3 separate regions of the Homo sapiens genome follow, and regions 2 and 3 are each linked to region 1. The links are contacts of gene promoters, found by promoter capture Hi-C in human tissues and cell types (Jung and others, 2019). All regions are on one chromosome and are shown on one strand. The core of a region is centred on a gene start or on the middle of the fragment in contact, and the rest is flanking DNA. Distances in the headings are between cores, read along the strand shown.

Region 1 (3,432 bases), core at 261-2,760:
CAAAGGGGTAATTCCTTGCAATTCCCTGACTGATAAGAGTGAAGGTCAAATTGGGCCAACATCAAGGCTCTGGGAGTCTGCAGGAGCATGGGCATTTGGAATAAAAGAAACATGAGGTAACCAGAAAAAATAAGGGAAAAAATTGTAGCCAAAATCAGACAATGCTTGGCAGCAGTGAGTGACATAAGGCAAAGAAATTTCCAAGCATGAATGTGACCAACCCCGTCAACACGTGCAGCCTCATTTTCTCATCCTGGTTTGCTTTGGGTTTCTTTGATAAAATGATGGTGATGGCACAAAGACAGTAAGCTAACAAAGGCAGAAATGCTGACAGCAAGCATTCATCAAGGATACTGATTTTTATAACGACCCTCTGGAGTTTACAGATGTGACAACAGGGGTACTCAGATTTTCAGGATGAGAAATCTGGGGGTGAGGAGGTAAAGTGACCTGCAGTGGCGGGGTACCCCACTGGGCAAGATCTGCAGGCACAGGCTCCCATCATGCCAGGCCAGGGGACAGCGGTGACCCACCTGGGTCCTTACCACATCCCACAGGCAGGTCACCTTGCTGGCCTCACGCCCAGGAAAGGGGGCATGGAGGTTTGCACCATGTCACACTGCCATGAGACAGTCAACAGCAGAGCACACAGGCTGCCCAGCCTCAACAACACATGGGTGCTGGCGCGCACAGAGCATGGGGAAGAGGGTTTAGAAATAAGACCCATGGAGGCTGGGTGCGGTGGCTTATGCCTGTAATCCCAGTACTTTGGGAGGCCAAGGCGGGCAGATCACAAGGTCAGGAGATCGAGACCATCCTGGCTAACACAGTGAAACCCCGTCTCTACTAAAAATACAAAAAATTAGTCGGGCGTGGTGGTGGGCGCCTGTGGTCCCAGCTACTTGGGAGGCTGAGGCAGGATAAATGGCATGAACCCAGGAGGCAGAGCTTGCAGTGAGCCAAGATCGCACCTCTGCACTCGAGCCTGGGCAACAGAGAGAGACTCCGTCTCAAAAAAAAAGAAATAAGACCCCTGGGCCAAGACCCCATGATCTCTTCCTGTGCCAGGTTTCTCCTGGTCTCCATGCAAGGGACCTAGCAGACAAGCAGATAGCTTAACTTTGTCTACTACCAGGCAGCAGAAAGTCCTCGAACTTGGAAGGTATCCTGCATTTGCAGGAAGAGCAATCAGCACTTCTCATGGCTGAAGGCATCCGCTTGGAGGAGTCTTCTCAAAAGCCTTCAGGAAAAAACTCCATTCTCAACACCAACTCCAACCTCTGAACTGACCCCGCCGGCCAAATGCACCCTCCTGGTACAGGGCCTCCACTCGTGCCAGAGTGAGCCCACATCCTAGAGGTGATGACTTTTGAAAGAAAATTTCTGAATGCATACTTTAAAATCAAGCTTACCAAACCCTCTGAGAACAGTGATAACTCACCTTTCCTGGTCATCAGAAATGTTCTGGGCTGCCTCCTCGGCCATGTCCTGTGCAAGCTGGTCACAAGTATGACAGTCAGCAGACCAGCTTCTTCCTACATCCTCTGGAAGACAAAGAAATAGAGCTTAATGCTTCCAGCTTCTGTACTTGTGACCTCTTATCAGGACACACATCAAACACAGAGGGAAAAATCCAAACTCCAGTAACATTTTCCCAAGCAGAAACAGCTTTTGTTTTCCTAACACTGTCAGACAAATTCCTTCCTAAGAAGTGTGCTTTTGACAGACGTGGTGGCTCATGTCTGTAATCCCAGCAATTTGGGAGGCCAAGGTGGGTGGATCACTTGAGGCCAGAAGTTTGAGACCAGCCTGGCCAATATGGTGAAACCCCGTCTCTACTAAAAATACAAAAATAGCCAAGTGTGGTGGCACACATCTGTAATCCCAGTTACCCAGGAGGCTCAGGCGAGAGAATTGCTTGAACCTAGGAGGTGGAGGTTGCAGTGAGACGAGATTGCACCACTGTGCAATAGAGTGAGACTCTGCCTCAAAAACAAAATGAAACAAAACAAAACAAAACAAAAGTGTGTTTTAGGTAGGGATCTTTGTGGCTGCCTGAAACAGATCACTACTCAAGGGAGAGACTGTACATGGAAGCTGAGAGAAGTCTGAGAATAAAAAGCTGTAACTGTTGGCTGGGCGCGGTGGCTCACGCCTATAATCCCAACACTTTGGGAGGTCGAGGTGGGCGGATCACGAGGTCAGGAGCTCGAGACCAGCCTGGCCAGCATAGTGAAACCCCGTCTCTACTAAAAATACAAAAATTAGCCAGGCATGGTGGCACGCACCTGTAGTCCCAGCTACTCGGGAGGCTGAGGCAGGAGAATTGCTCGAAACCGAGAGGCGGAGGTTGCAGTGAGCCGAGATCGTGCCACCACACTCCAGCCTGGGCAACAGAGCGAGGCTCTGTCTCAAAAAAAAAAAAAAAAAAAAAAAGCTGTAACTGTCCACAACTGCACTGGGGAACAGGATACCTTCCACAAGAGCAGAAGAGCATTCCTAAGGAAGGCTGGCAAGGCACACACTAGGCGCACTCTGTCTTACGGCAGAACCTAGGAATGATCTGGTTCCGAACCTCCTGCACCTCTCCTTGTTTGCAACTGGCGGGTCAGACTGAGTTCTCTCCATTACGAAACATTTTCTCTTATATTTTTAAAGCACTTGTTAGTTGTCTTAGTTCTTTATACCAACATTTAAACCTTCAGAGATTTTAGAAAACTTAATGTTTTACTCAGAACACTAGATATTTTTTCTCTCCACTCTGAAGAGAGTGATACCAAGAAGAGTGGGAACGTTTTCAGGCACAAGCTCTTTCTCAGATGGGAACACAGACCCCTTGAACAATGATGAACCAAGCTACGGGTGTCCGGCCTTGGATCCTGTGTTTTCTGGAACTTTGCTGCCAATGAGGTGAGTAACCAGAGCCCTGTGGTGGGTTAAGGGGCCTGCTGTTGACCTAACACACCTGTCTCCTGGGGCCTGCTGCCACCTCTGCTCTTCTCACACTGCCTTGTCAGTGCCTCTGGCTTTGTCCCCACTGTGCTTGTTGTGAGTAAATCTCAGATTTGGGGGAAATGCATACTTTCCAATTTCATTAGCAATACACTTTCAAATGCGCCTGTGACCAAGAAAAGGATAAACTGCAAACTGCAGTTTGTAAACGAACAAAATCCCTTCTTTCTGAAGCCCCTGTGATTTGCTCTGACACCTTCCTGTCAAATCTAAACAGAGTCCACTGGGTAAAGACACCTGTGCAACCCTGCCTGCTGGGCTGGCATCCATACCCACACGCACACCTGGATGCTCTGACCTTGCTGCTGCCTGTTCCTTCCTTGTGGGGCTGGACATCCTGAGAACAGGGCCTACATTTAAAGTTTGTGATGTTTTTGAAGCCAGCAGTGCTAACCAAAGATGCCAGGAAATGAGGAGGAG
Region 2 (3,541 bases), core at 862-3,361, 350 kb before region 1:
CCGACAGCAGGGAGAAAGGGAAGCATAGGTGAGGGCGGTTAATTCCTATTCTCCAGGTTTTCCCTGCTTCATGGATACGTACCACATCAGTACCCATGGCTGGCACCTGCCAAGTTTGCCGGGGCTCAGGGATAAAGGGTGGAGAGTGAAGGGAGGATGCTCGCTTTCTCTATTCATCACACCCTGAGTTTTTGCTGAGAGAAGGAAGGGAATGAGGGATGCCTCTATTCCCTGTCTTTCAGAATGGGCAACCCGTTCTCTTCACCACCCCCAGCTTATACTCCTCTGGAGTGTATCCTGAACCACTGGAACTGCTTGGACTCTCAGAGTCTGGAGGAAAAGTGCCTCATATCCCTCTGCACAAAGGTTTGGCCAAATTATGATTCACAGGAAAGACTGGCTTGGCCTCAGGGAGGAACCATTCATTTCAATACAATCTGGCAATTGGAACTTTTCTGTAGATGTGAGGGCAGGTAGTCTGAGGCTCCATATGTGTAGGCTTTCTGTACCTTGCAAGGACCTTTGCCGACAGTGTAGGATTGATCTAGCCTTCCTGTTTGCCATCTCAAGGAAGGCTGCAAGGGGCAAGCCCAGGGAAGTAAAGACACGAGTGCCAGAGGCACCCCCAGCAGAGGAGCCAGCTCCCTCAAACCCTGTTCCTCCAAGTTCACCCCTGCCTCCTTCTACAGCTTCAGCGTCTCACTTGCCCACTCCTAAAAATCCTCCCCCTAAACAAGCCCCAGTCTCACTTTTGCCCCTCCAACAAATGCCCAGTGAATTTGGGCCCAGTAAGGTCCAGGTCCCCTTCTCCCTACGGGACTTAAAGTAAATTAAGGAAGATCTTTGCAAGTTTTCAGATGACCCTGATAGATAAATAGAGGCTTTCCAGAATTTCACCCAAATATTTGAACTCTCCTGGAGAGATGTTATGTTACTTTTGAATCAGACCCTGATGGACACTGAGAAACAGGTCGCTCTTCAAGCAGCAGAGAGATTTGGGGATGAGCTTTGTGTCACATATAGCATCAGGGAAGGGGGTGAACATTATCCAACCTGAAGAGAAGCAGTACCAGTGAATGACCCTACATGGGATCCCAGTGACAAGATGGAAGATGAGAAGAGGAAACACTTTCAGGTGTGCATAATGGAGGGCTTACATAGGACTCTCAATTATACTAAGTTGTCCATGATTGACCAGGGATTTGATGAAAATCCCACTGCCTTCCTGGAAAGGCTAAGAGAGGCCTTGGTAAAGCACACCTCTCTATCTCCTGATTCAGTCAAGGGACGGCTAATCCTAAAGGATAAATTTATCACTCAGGCTGCCCCTGACATCAGTAGGAAGTTGCAAAAACCGGTCCTAGGACCAGACAGTATATTAGAGGACCTCTTGAAAGTGGCTACCTCAGTCTTTTATAATAGAGAAAGGGAAGCCTAGGAAAGAGAGACAAGATACAGGTATTCCCAGGGTGCATCTGTGAATTGCTAAGGATATGGCAAGAACAGCTATCTCTCTTCTAAAGTTTATCCGCTCCCATACAAGGTTTAATTTCTTTCACCAGGATGAAACAGCTTGGGGTACAATGTTGTTGTTAGTATATTTTACTTCTTGTCTCTGTAATCTTTGGCACTCAATTCTTTCCTTGTTATAATACACATGTTTAACTCATGCATTCTTAACCTTATAAAACTTGTTTTTTTCTCTCATGCCTAGAAACCCTCAAACTCCAAACCGTCAGGCAACCGGAGCCTCAAACGATGGCTCCCCTTTGCTAGGAACCCTTAGATAGACCTCTGGGAGGAGTCTGACTGCCGTTTTCCCCAAAACAACGCCCCTGTCAACAGGAAACAGCTAAGACCGGTCATCGTCCATATTCTAGTGGCAGTTAGATGTACCTCTTTAAAGGGGGGATATGATAAGGGAGTGCTGGGAAGGGAAGAGCGTGGTCCCTTTAAATGATACAGAAGCAGAGAGGGGAAGAGCTGGGTAGAAGAAGGCGGGTTCCTGGCTAGGGCTTCACCCCCAAGGACCTAGGTGAGGACAGGCACTTCTGCTTTCACGTCCAAATGTTGCAATTTCCAAGACCACCCTGGCCCACCACCACCTGGCCCCATCCTGGGCCTATAAAAACTGAGACCTTAACAAGGCAGAGACACACAAGCGACTGGACATTGTGAGGAACACATAGGTGGAAGAAGACACAAGCGGCTGATCGTCGAGAGCACGCAGGCAGAAGAGCACATTGACAGGCACCGGCATGCCCGCAGGCCATCAACTGGTGTAATGACATGGAGTTTGGCTGGGGCAGTCTGAGGAGAGCCTGGGCTGCCGAGCTGCCCAACTCCAGGGGAAAACAATTTCCCTCTGGCTCCCCTGTCTGCTGAGAGCTACTTCCACTCAATAAAACCTTGCACTCATTCTGCAAGCCCATGTGTGATCTGATTCTTCTAGTACACCAAGGCAAGAAACCCAGGGATACAGAAAGCCCTCTGTCCTTGAGACAAGGTAGACGGTCTAATTGAGCTGACTAACACAAGCTGCCTATGGATGGCAAACTAAAAGATCACCCTGTAACACACGCCCACTGGGGCTTCAGAAGTTGTAAACATTCACCCCTAGACACTGCCATGGCATCAGAGCCCCACAACCTGCCTGTCTGTATGCTCCCCTAGAGGTGTGAGCAGGGGGGCACCAAAGAAGTGAGCCACATCCCCATCACATGCCCTGTGAAGAGGACAAGGGAACTTTTCCCGTTTCAACTGCATTACAGCAACATAATGAGATACTGTCTCTTTAAAAAAGTCTGAAAACCACTAATCTACGGTTCTATTGGCGTGATTCACAGCTGAGAAAACTGGGGCTGCAGGACAGGGTGCTGAGCCAAGACGGGCACTGAGTTCTTTCTCCGGGTCAGAGCAAGCTCCTTCCTCCTCCACCAGTGTCTTTTCTCCTGACTTGTTTTCTGACCATTCACCCTGGGTTCAGCTTGGAGCAGGGCCTGTGTATTTACTGCTGAGGCCACATTAACTCTTAGCAATGATTAAATTTTGACATCTCAAAACCACACTTCCGAATGTCCCCTTCAGAGGGATGCAATGATAACTCCTGCAGACCTTCAGCAAAGGGATATTACTTTTGTGCCCCCTTGGTCCCAGTGTAAAAGTGTTGACTGAAATTAAAAAGGGGAAGTGGTTGTAATTCACCAGGGCCTTTCCTCTTAAGTGGGTCTTGACTTTAATTTCCACCCTCAAGGTGAAGGGCAGAAGGTTTCTCTGCAATTTCACATTAGTTTAACAAATGGTTTAATGAGCACTAAAATCAGTGCTACCCTATGTTGCCCAACCCCAGGAAGAGTGATTCACATTGAATAGAATGTGGATGCTGCCTGTCCCTGGGATGGTGGGGTTCACAGCTTTGCCTAAGAAATCTGTTCAGTGTGTACATTAACACAATGCACGGGGGGAAGGTGATTCACACCAATTCATGGGGGAAGGTGATTCACACCAATGCATTGGGGAAGACATCAACCAGGGGAGGAGA
Region 3 (3,307 bases), core at 694-3,193, 390 kb before region 1:
GTGTGAATCCCATGTTCAGATTCTCCTTGAACCCACATGCCCTCTTTTGTAGAATAACCCTGTTGACAATTGAGCAGTAAGAGGTTCTAGTAAACTGCAGAAGATCCTGGAGACACTTTAAAATCAAAACGTGATTTTTAAAAAATTACCTTTAGTAAAACAAGTCAGCTACTCTAAGGAGGTTCCCAGATAGATTATTTAGAGTCCTCATCCTGAGACACACTAAGGGCCAAGACCCCCTGAGCAGGGGTCTCTCCAGGCCATCTGGGGACAACTCTGCACCCCCATGAATGTGGGTGTTCTGCCTGTCCTGGGGCCCTAGGAGCCTCCGGCCTGAGTCTGGGCATCTGAAGCTCTGAGGTAGGGAACCGAGGACGACAGAGGGCCCCACATCCCTTAGGCCCAATCCACAGGCGAGCATGATTATTATTTTGTTGGTTGTTTGACTTTTCTTTCCCTAAGCCCATAATTGTGACTTCCTCCCAACAAGTTCCTCCGGTCAGTGGGTACATCTGAGTCACACTCTGGGGGCAGGGGCGAGTGAAGCTTCCCAAGCTGAGGGAAGCAAAGCAGAGGCATAACAGCTGAGATCTTCAGGGGCTGCAAAGTGCGGGCCCCAGGCCAGACGCTGCCCGCTCTCACTGGCTGGGCTGAGGGGAATGCAACCTCCCATAAACCCAAATGGCAAAACTCCACAAGTCTTTGGTACAGTGAGCATGGCATGCAAGGAAGGAATGGCACCTGGCGATTCTCAATGCAACGGTGCTGGGCAGAAGGGCAGGTTGCAGCCAAGAGGCCCTACTCCCAGCCCTCTGTCCTCCAGTCCCTGCCACCAAGCCATGCCCCCCACAGACGATAACCAGGAGCAGCGGGGGCGGGGAGCAACAGAACCTGACCTGTGCAGGGTGTGCAGGGTGCCTAGTCCCCATCTTCCACCAGTTGGTGATGCATCCGAATCCTGATCTCTGCCTGGAGCACATGAGGAGGCTCAGATCCACCTTGGACAAGTCCTGCAAATGTCCAGGGTCAGAACAATCCTTAAGACCAACAGTGCGTCTGGGAAAGTTTACAAGCGTCCTACGTAAGGGAGAGGCTGACTTTTCGTCTTTCCTCAGGGTGCAGTCACGGGTGATATGCACAGCTTTGTCAGAGGCTTTGAAAACCAGCAGCCGCCAAGGCTACTTCCACCAGAACCATCAAACCTGCCTGCAGCGAGCTCACAAATGGACCTTTCTGTCCCAACACTACTATTTAACCCAACCCTCACCCATCTAGGGGGTGCTATCTTTTAATCTTTCAAATACAGGAAAGGAAGAGTCACAATGTGGAACGAAAAAAATGGTCCTGTCCATTTCTGCAATGCCTTTCCTTGCAACACATACAGAAATCTATCTTAAGTAACAACCAGGTAAAGCACCCATATGGGTAAATAACTGAAGGTTTTATGGGAATATGACGTGGCAACTGGCAGAATACTCTCTGGGATTTTTCATCCTAGTTTGTTTTTTTAAGTGCCAACTGACTTCTCTGCCTACTAATAATTGGAGGCGCTGGGGACATTTGGAAATGTGAGGACATTTTAACCATCACCACCACTGGGGTGGCCACTAGCATGTAGTGGGAGGAGGTAGGGAGGCCACGCCATTCCTAGAGCAAACTGTCCAACAATGAATTATTCCACACCACATGCCATGAACCACGCCTTACTGGATTACATCCACAGTTCAAGAATGTGTGTCATGGAATTCTCCAGAGGAAGTCTCCAAACTGGAAGGATGGCCTCTTTTCCAGAGGGCTGCGTAGAAGGCCTGCGGTGAGCAGGCCTCGGGACATCTCTGCTGTCTGCCCATCGTCCCTCTGGCAAATGACAAATGACGAGAACTTCTGCACCACTCCCACCCCCACCAAGGAGGCCTGAGCACACGAGGCAGGCCCAGGCTGGCCCTCCACTGTCCACCCCCATGTGGGTGCTGACGCCTGTATACAGGACACTGCTTCCTGCAGGCAAGAATGAGGGAGCCCGATTCTAGCATCAGAGCCTCTTGTAGGTTCCCAACATAAAAGGAAACAGGGTATTTGCCGTCCTGATAAGAGCAAGCTACAGCAAGCCGGTGCCGAGGAGGATCAAAGAGGCTGCGCCACCTCCTAGGAATGCTTCCTCGGCCTGCATTGTTTTCTTCTTTTATTCTTACCCCAGGGCAAAAAGCAAAGCTCCCAGTCTGTGCCTCATTTCAGGCTAACTTGACACTTGGCAGAGGGTCCCACACCCTCCTCCATGCAAGAGTGGGTGCCTCCACCAACCCCAACCCCTTTGTGTCCATCAGCCCAACTTCAAAGAGGCCGACCCCAGCACCTCCCCACCCTGCAGTGGAGCACACCTGCAGGGACCAAGAAAGGCCCAGGTTTTCATTCTAAGGACTTGGGGTTCAGGCCCACCTCTCCCATCACCTACTTGCAAATTTCCACCGACTCCTGTTTCGTCGATGGAAAAACTGGGACAAAATAACCACAGCCTCCCTGGGCAGGTTTCCCACGCATGAGGAGAGGACAAGGCCCACTGCCTGGGGCCCCCCTCAGCAGAGGGTCCCAGCTCTGCCTCCCCAGGGTCCCACTCTCCCACACAGCCACCCTATGGGACATTCCTCTGTGTACACCTGCAGGAAAACCCTGCTCAGGGTCCAAGTCCAAGCCCTCCTTGGTTATGTCCAAGGCCATGAGCAGGAGGAAGCTTTGCATGACCCCCTCGAGCCCTTCCACTCACCTGGTAATGGCAAAACTGGCCGCAAATCTCCCAGAGCCGAAATCTCCCCAGAGGGAGCCCAAGGGAAAGCACTGGAAGGCAGAAGCAAATCTCGCAACGCCCGTGTATATAGACCTCCCATGTCACTCTTCCAACCCCATGTTTAATGCATATTTAAATATACAGACAGGCAGGTCGTGGTGGTTCACACCTGTAATCCCATCACTTTGGGAGGCCAAGGTGGGCGGATCATGAGATCAGGAATTTGAGACCAGTCTGGCCAATATGGTGAAACTCCATCTCTACTAAAAATACAGAAATTAGCCAGGCATGGTGACGCGCGCCTGTAGTCTCAGCTACTTGGGAGGCTGAGGCAGAAGAACTGCTTGAACCTGAGAGGTGGAGGTTGCAGTGAGCCAAGATCACGCCACTGCACTCACACCTGGGCAACAAAGCAAAACTCCATCTCACAAAAAATAAATAAATAAATAAACAGACATCAAGACACATGTTCAGATTTTTAATAATGGGAGCGGGAGAATTCTCCAAGGGACAGCAGAGGTGGCT

The links. The method cuts DNA at HindIII sites, captures the fragments that hold promoters and counts their contacts. A contact is called where the count stands out against the background at its distance.
Region 2: a fragment that was not itself captured here is called in contact with the fragment with the promoter of PKD1L1 in region 1 in 1 of the 25 tissues and cell types used here (adrenal gland).
Region 3: a contact is called between a fragment that was not itself captured here and the fragment with the promoter of PKD1L1 in region 1, in 1 of the 25 tissues and cell types used here (neural progenitor cells).

The regions. Positions count from the first base shown.
Region 1 is chr7:47,946,956-47,950,387 of GRCh38, forward strand. PKD1L1 (polycystin 1 like 1, transient receptor potential channel interacting) reads right to left here and starts at 1,511. Exons shown (of 57, transcript NM_138295.5): 1 at 1,442-1,511. The coding sequence starts at 1,485. The HindIII fragment of the contact is 8,797 bases long and covers 1-3,432 here.
Region 2 is chr7:47,598,124-47,601,664 of GRCh38, forward strand. No RefSeq gene overlaps it. Among named protein-coding and RNA genes, the nearest start is that of TNS3, 18 kb to the left of the region's middle. RefSeq lists an enhancer at 2,938-3,027. The HindIII fragment of the contact is 5,292 bases long and covers 1-3,541 here.
Region 3 is chr7:47,556,141-47,559,447 of GRCh38, forward strand. All of the region lies in intron 1 of TNS3 (tensin 3), which reads right to left. Among named protein-coding and RNA genes, the nearest start is that of TNS3, 24 kb to the right of the region's middle. RefSeq lists enhancers at 194-922, 1,651-2,378. The HindIII fragment of the contact is 6,111 bases long and covers 1-3,307 here.